Regions from separate parts of the Homo sapiens genome. Here region 2 is linked to region 1. The links are contacts of gene promoters, found by promoter capture Hi-C in blood cells and fetal thymus (Javierre and others, 2016). All regions are on one chromosome and are shown on one strand. Each heading gives the region's core, a stretch centred on a gene start or on the middle of the fragment in contact. The rest is flanking DNA. Distances are from core to core; before and after follow the strand shown.

Region 1 (4,207 bases), core at 803-3,302:
AAAATGCAAATCAAAACCACAATGAGATACCATCTCACACCAGTTAGAACGGCGATCATTAAAAAGTCAGGAGACAACAGGTGCTGGAGAGGATGTGGAGAAATAGGAACACTTTTGGGCTGTTGGTGGGACTGTAAACTAGTTCAACCATTGTGGAAGTCAGTGTGGCGATTCCTCAGGGATCTAGAACTAGAAATACCATTTGACCCAGCAATCCCATTACTGGGTATATACCCAAAGGATTATAAATCATGCTGCTATAAAGACACATGCACATGTATGTTTATTGCGGCACTATTCACAATAGCAAAGACTTGGAACCAACCCAAATGTCCAACAATGATAGACTGGATTAAGAAAATGTGGCACATATACACCATGAAATACTATGCAGCCATAAAAAAGGATGAGTTCATGTCCTTTGTAGGGACATGGATGAAGCTGGAAAGCATCATTCTCAGCAAACTATCACGAGGACAAAAAACCAAACACCGCATGTTCTCACTCATAGGTGGGAATTGAACAATGAGAACACATGGACACAGGAAGGGGAACATCACACACCGGGGCCTGTTGTGGGGTGGGGGGAGGGAGGAGGGATAGCATTTGGAGATATACCTAATGTTAAATGACGAGTTACTGGGTGCAGCACACCAACATGGCACATGTATACATTTGTAACTAACCTGCACATTGTGCACATGTACCCTAAAACTTAAACTATAATAAAAAAAATTTTTTTGTTAATACGTGTATTAGTCTCTTTTCACGTTGCTGATAAAGACATACCCAAGTCTAGGTAATTTATAAAGAAAAAGAGGTTTAATAGATTCACAGTTCCATGTGGCTGGGGAGGCCTCACAATTCTGGCAGAAGGTGAAAGTCACGTCTTACATGGCAGCAGGCAAGAGAGAATGAGAGCCAAGCAAATGGGGAAACGTCTTATAAAACCATCAGATCTCATGAGATGTATTCACTACCATGAGAACAGTATGGAAGAACTGCCCCCATTATTCAATTATCTCCCACCGGTCCCTCCCACAACCCTTGGGAATTATGGGAGCTACAATTCAAGATGAGATTTGAGTGGGGACACAGCCAAACCATATCAATACATAATACTTCTACGTATTTATGGGGTACATGTGATATTTTGTTACATGCATACTTCAAATACCTCTACAGAGGCAGCCACTGTCTCCATCTGACAGTTTTCATGCAACACATGATTGAAGGCCCAGAGCTGCATATATAGAAAAACAGAAAGAAGGATTTTGCTATTTTTGTTTTATTATAGAATCTACTATTTCTCATTTTGGTTGTTCTTGTTGCTCTGTAGATTTGAAGAACATTGGCCATGGTCATGTTCAGAATTTTTCTGACATCAGTTCTGAAAATGGCAAATCATCAAGTGCAGGGGTCAGCAAACTGCTGCTGTTCTTTGTACATCCTACTAGCTGCGAATGGTTTTTACATTTTTTAAAGGTTGCAAAAACATAAGGAACATGCAACAAAGACTGTATGAGGCCCATAAAACTAAAATAGTATCTGTTCCCTTAGAGAAAACATTTGCCAACCCTTGATCTAGAGCATAAAAGTGACATTTCTTTACTCTCTAAATAATTAGAGCAAAATAACAAAGTTCAGGGAATTTATGACTCATGAAATCAAACTTACAGGAAACTCATTATTATAGGGTTAAGACTTTAGTATTTTTCTCAACAGCAAAATCTTCAAATTCTTAAGTGAAAATCTCATCTATTTAATATTACTCTGCTTACTTCTCATTTGGTGATGGGATGGAGGGATTAGAGAAGGGAGAAGGATATTTAGAAATAGGTTATAAAAGATGAAAATAAAGCAAACACATTACTGATTCTGCATATAAAGCCCTCAGTTTTCTGATTCTTGGCTGTCCACAAATGAACTAGTCATGGCATAAAAGTGAAATAGGATCCAAAGTCTGCCAAAGTTCCAGGTTCTGAGATGACATGTTTAATGATGTCATAGAGAAGTTATCCATGTATTCCAGGCAGGATACTGTAATAAATAGGAGACAGCTACAGTGATCCAACTAAACCAACAGGGGATTTTCATCAGCACTTCCCTGGTGTAATCATGGTACAGATTATTAAAGACACGGCAAGTATTTATTTGGCTTCACTGAGTATTTCAAATGTGGACATCTTGGGAACAGATTTGAAAAACTTTAAGAATGTGTTCTCTCTATCCAGTATTCTATCATTGCATTGTAGCAAGGGGAGAGTTCTAAATTCTTGTTCTTTATCTTGTTCCTTGAGGGATGGTACTATCAAGAAAAGCAGCCAAGGGTCAAATTGATAAAGAAGGGCTTTCTTCCTCCTGGACTTTTATTTCCTGCCTGACTTCAGGTGAATCCCAGACCAGCTCCTAGTACATCCCATCCTGTATCTGATCCCATGGATCGTACCTCAGTTGTGCTTGGAAAATTCCATGGAAGTAAGGAAGTCCACATCTTTTCTCTTATCCAAGGAAAAATAATAGAAACCCCAGATGTGGAATGGGGTGGGAAAATTGGGAACAGCCCAATGTTGCTGTCACAACAAATCTAAATTCATGTATAGGACAGAGATAATTCTTGATTTATAAAGGAGAAAATTGCCTCTAAAAGAGAGGTTCAGGGCTAGTTCGTTTAAGAGGTGGTGTGGGCATTAGAACCCAGACCTTCTGATGCCTGCCCTCATTACAAGAAGTCAAGAGCTGGAGGAGGGGAGGGGGTTTGGGGCCTGAGCCTCATGTCCACCAGCAGCCTCAGATTTAGACTTGTGACATTTTCCCCAAAGGTGGCTATACAGATCACAAAAATGACACTGACCAGATTGAAAGAGAGTACTGCCCTGTAACTTCGACATAAGAACATGTTTTGAAACATCACACATTTGCTAATGCTTTTGACACTTATTGTTTTAATATTCTGGGGATGTCACAGAATAGCCTGGAGCCTTATTCCCTCAGAAGACCTTTCATCTCCTCCCCAGGGACCTTTCCAGAGGCCCTGATCTCCATCCCATCTTTATTCAGATGCCACCTTCTCTTTGAGGTTGACCTTGGCCATCCAGACTACAGTTGTAATCCAACCCCCATTCTTCCTTCCTACTTCATTTTCTTTTTATTTTCTTTATTAGCAATTAGCACTAATATACTACAAATATTACCTATTGACCTTATAGTAAGCTTCCCATTCTAAAATGTAAACTCCATGGAGACAGAATGCCTAGTTTTTGTTTTGTTTTGTTTTGTTTTTGTCCACAGTGGTATCCTAGCAGTTTGTGCAGTAGCTGGCATAGTATAGGCCTCAATACGCATATGTTAAATAAATACCTATACTATGAGAGTATTCCCTTCAGATAGTTTAGTCAAGTCAAGTTCATGGGTCCAATTAGGCCAGCTCACACCCAAACAACAACTACTGGAAAGTGAAGAGTGTTGGGAGTTTGTGAGGATAGCATCTACCTTACAACTTCAGAAGCAAGTGAGAAATAAAGGCTTGGCAAGGTTCTCTGAAAAGTTAGTTACTCCCTCCCAGAGGAATATTGATAAAGAAAGAGAGTGCATCTTCTTTGAGTCATCACTTTCACCTGATTGAAACTAAACAAAGTAGCCACATAATTGTCAAGGCTATTATAGAGCAGGCATGTTGTATTAGTCTATTTGCATACTGCTATGAAGAAATGCCCAATACTTGGTAATTTATAAAGAAAAAAAGATCTAATGAACTCACGGTTCCACATGGCTGGGAAGACCTCACAATCATGGTGAAGGCGAAGGAGGGGCAAAGGCATGTCTGACATGGCGGCAGGCAAGACAGCGTGTGCAGGGGAACTGCCCTTTATAAAACCGTCAGATATTTTTAGACTGACTCACTGTCATGAGAACAGCATGGGAAAAACCCACCCCCATAATTCATTTACCTCCCACTAGGTCTCTCCCATGACATGTGGGGATTATGGGAGCTACAATTCAAGATGAGATTTGGGTGGGGACTCAGCCAAACTGTATCACATGTCATTTGTATGGATTAAACCCATCCATAGTGGGAATAGGCCTTGCTTGACTTAATACAATTAACAATCCCATCCCCCTCCTCTTAATGTTCGGTCCAGGAATAAGCACACAATGCAATTAGGGCCAATGAAAGGGAGAATAAGTCCTAATTCTATAATGAACT
Region 2 (4,033 bases), core at 60-2,559, 280 kb before region 1:
TTACAAGAGGAAACAAGAGAACAAAAAGGGAAGTATTTGTTTTGAGAAGAGCAAAGCCTAAAGAAAAGGCTAATTCTATGAAAGGGTATAGCTGGCAGCCACTGCTACCTGGGTGAGCTTTATGGTAAATAAATTTAATCTCAATAATGCTGTTAAAAATATGTAATCATTTCATGATTTGCGGTGAAAGTGCAGGCATCTGCAGAAAGGTAGAAAGAGTGGAGTGGGAGTGAAATTTTCATGGAGAAGCAATGTTAGCACAGACCACAGATTCTGGTTATGGGGAAAAAAGGAAGAGGAAGGTCTCAGCTAAAAAATATACTGGTGGCAGCATTCAAGTGTTTCTGGAAAGATGAGGATCATTTTAATAAGTCAGTCATAGTCCACTTGTAACTAAGAGGAGTCCAGTTTGGGAGACACCACAAGGACCATGTCTTTCTGCTCTTAAAGTCATAGGGAAGATCTTGGATGAAAGTCAGAACTCCCACAGAGTATGGGAGAAATGAGGCCCAGCTCTGGTGGTTTAAAGAAATTCATATTAAATATGGAGGTGGCCCTTGGGAGGTTCAAACATTATAACTTTTTGGCTTAACCAGTGAATCCATTGCACACTCTGTTGCTGTTGTACTCAAAATATTGCTAGCAAGAAGACACTCTTATGATTATCAAGCTACTAGCAAAATGTTGCCTAAGAGTATATATTTTTCCCTCACAGGCGGTATTAGCTTGGGGATACCACTCCCAAATAAGAAGAAATTGATAAAAACTGCTTAAGCACTTTGAGACAGAGCTAAGAACTACGTCTTTGAAATATGTATTTTCTACCATATAAATTAACAGAAACTAATTGGAAAGCTGGAAAGAAAGGAGGGACTCTGGATGTGAACCCATAAACCAGAATTTACAGGCCTAAGATGTATGAGAAAACAAGGCGTATAGATGTCCTTCAGTGTCTTAGCCTTGCCAAAATTATTTGGGCAAGGAACTTGGTTCCTCTGAGGACTGTTCATCCTTTAAAGCAGGAAATAAAGCTTATGAGACAAGCTACATGCTACTGAAAATTGGTGGATTTGGGGGATAGTGTTGTAAGACCCATAGAATGCAAACGCTGTACTGTAACTATGGCCACACCACAGAAAGTTTTGCCAGAATGGTTAAGTTCTGAGTCAGAAAAGGGAACAAAAACCTGGAGGAGATGGCTCCCCTGGAGATAGCCCAAAGCCTCAAATCCATCTGTAATGATGCTGGAAGCAGAAAGGCCCTTGACTGAGGGTGTGGCCATGCAAAGAGTAGCAGACAAGTGCTTTGAACCTTCCTGAATATGCACTAATACAAAGTATACACATCGCCGCTGAGGGGTTTGGCAGAGGGGAATGGGAATCGGGTTTCTAGAAAGATAGGCTAGTCTGATATGCTTCAAAATGTTTCTGCAGATGCCTAAGGTTTCTGAGGTTCCTGAAGGTTATGTCAATTATCACTCACAATAAATAAAGTCTTGGAAAGGAGGAGGGATGGTATTCAAAGTTAATAGAAAAAAAAGTAAGAGGAATAAATCAAACATTGGTAAAGATTCAAGACTAAGCTTGATGGAAGCAGGCAATGGCTTTGAATAAAGTCTGGAGAGTCCACTGAGATAAATGCCTCCAGTCACTAAAAATTCAGTTTGGGGTGACTTTTGGCATTTATAATTTCCAAGGAATTTGTCCATCTCATCTAAACTGTTGAATTTGTATGCATAAAATTGTTTATTGTATTCCCTTATTAGCCTTTTTAATGTCTGTAGGGTCTGCAGTGATATCTCCCTTTCAGTCCTGGTACTGGTCATTTGTATCTTCTTCCTCTTCCCACTCTCCCATGTTAGATATGAGTTCTAAATTTCTTTTCAAAGAATCAATATGTCAGTATGTTCAATTCTTTGCCTTCTACTTTTAAACTTAACTTCCTCATAAAGCAACCTTTTTCGATTACCTGCTCCACTCTGACTCATTTCAATCACCTGCTCCACCCTGACTCATTCTGATTACCTGCTCCACCATGACTGATTCCGATTACCTACTCCACCCTCACTCATTCCGATTAACTGCTCTGTCATAACCATTTTTCCTCCCAAACCACTCACCCTGTCACTCTCTTTAAAGTAGCCAATCAGAATTAGTTTAGCCTGTGCGGTCTAACCCTAGCCAATAGGGGAACGACACAGCATCAGAGGCCATGTGTGTCGGGGTAAGAACCCCTTTCCCTCCCTTGTCCAGGTGTGCACTCACCATTGCTCCGTCTGTAAGGGCGCACCCTTCTATAGAAGTACCTTGCCTTGCTGATAATTAAAAAGAAAATTTTATATTCGAGTGCTATTTCTTTTGCGGTACCGAAACTTTATTTATAATACCCACCACCCATAGAATGTCTGCATAGAGTTTTACTTAGAGAACCACCTTTTGGTTTCATTGATTTTTCTCTACTATTTTTCTGTTTTCCACTTCATTTATTTCTGTTTTTATATATATCATTTCTACCCTTCTGCTTGTTTGGGGTTTAATTTGATTTTTTTTTTTTTTTTACTAGTTTCTTAAGAGGCTAACAAATTTGAGACCTTCCTTCTTTTTTAATATGAGCATTTAATGATCTTTTCATGTATTTCATAAATTATGATATGTTGTATTTTCATTTTTAGTTAGTTCAAAATATTTTCTAATATCCCTTGAGGTTTTCTCTTTGGCTCATGGATTTTTTAATTTCCACATATTTTGGGATTTTCCAGATGTATTTCTGTTATTGATTTCTATTTAATTCCTTAAAGGTTAGAGCACATACTTTGCATGATTCCAATTATTGTAAATCAATTAAGGCTTGTGTTATGGCCCAGCATATGGTCTTTCTTGATGAATATTCCATGAACAGTTGAAAATATTGTGTATTATGCTAATGTTGGGTGGTGTATTCTATAAATGTCAACTAGTGTTGTTTTAGTCTTCTATATCTTTATTGATTTTTCTGTCTAGTTCTTCTAATTCCTGAGTGTAGATATCTTCAAATAGATTTGTTAATTTTCCTATTTCTTCTTTCAGTTCTCTCAGTTTTTGCTTCACATAGTTTGATGCCTGTTGTCAGGAGCATACACATTTAGGATTATTACATATTCTCGGACAATTCACCCCTTCCTCAGTATTTAATGTCTTTTCTTATCCCTGATAATATTTTTAATTCTGAAGTCTATTCTATCTGATATTAATAAAGCAACTCCAGTATTCTTTTGATTGGTGTTTTCATGATGTATCTTTTATCTTTCTCTTATTTTATCTATCTATATATCTATATTTAAATGTGTTTCCTGTAGTCACATAATTGTCTTTTTAAAAATTGAATTTGATAGTCTGTTTTTTAATTAGAACATATAGAAATGTAGAAATCTTACCTGGTCCCTTTATGCTCTCTTCTTTATGTAGTGAATATATATAATATATATAATATAATACTTATATATAATATTATATTATTAGTTATGTTAATATAATATTAGGGTTAGGCTTAGGATTACTATCCCTGTTGTATAAATGAAAACACCAATACTCAGAGAGGTGAGGCAACTTGCCTATGGCCATATAATTATATTACATAATATAATAATAATGATATAATATCTGTGCATATTATATATATAATATATATTCATTTACTCACATGGAAACCCCCACCAGACAATATTATAATTTTGGCTTTTGATAATTCTACTTACTTAAAGAACTTAAAAGTAGAAAAATAGGCTTTTAGAGTTGACCTTTGAACAATACATGTTTGAACTGTGTGGGTCCACTTATACACAGACTTTTTTCAACCAGATGTGAATCGAAAATACAGTACTGAAGATCTAAACCCTGCAAATCATGAGGGCCAACTTTTTGTATACGTGGATTCTACCGGGCCAAATGCCGGACTTGAGTATACGCAAATTTTGGTATATGTAGTGGTTTGGAACCAATCACCTGTATGTATTGAGGGATGATTGTATGTTTACCTTAATATCTACATTTCTGTT

The links. The method cuts DNA at HindIII sites, captures the fragments that hold promoters and counts their contacts. A CHiCAGO score of 5 or more calls a contact.
Region 2: a fragment that was not itself captured here is called in contact with the fragment with the promoter of TXNDC8 in region 1 in 3 of 17 cell types (M2 macrophages, M1 macrophages and erythroblasts); the score reaches 5.7 in M2 macrophages.

The regions. Positions count from the first base shown.
Region 1 is chr9:110,335,708-110,339,914 of GRCh38, reverse strand. It overlaps TXNDC8 (thioredoxin domain containing 8), which reads left to right and starts at 2,052. Exons shown (of 6, transcript NM_001424031.1): 1 at 2,052-2,142. The coding sequence starts at 2,119. LOC124902245 (a long non-coding RNA gene) reads right to left here and starts at 3,711. Exons shown (of 2, transcript XR_007061728.1): 1 at 1,678-3,711; 2 at 1,273-1,390. The HindIII fragment of the contact is 4,418 bases long and covers 1-3,215 here.
Region 2 is chr9:110,612,852-110,616,884 of GRCh38, reverse strand. LOC105376218 (a long non-coding RNA gene) reads right to left here and starts at 2,840. Exons shown (of 3, transcript XR_007061731.1): 1 at 1-2,840. The HindIII fragment of the contact is 551 bases long and covers 1,034-1,584 here.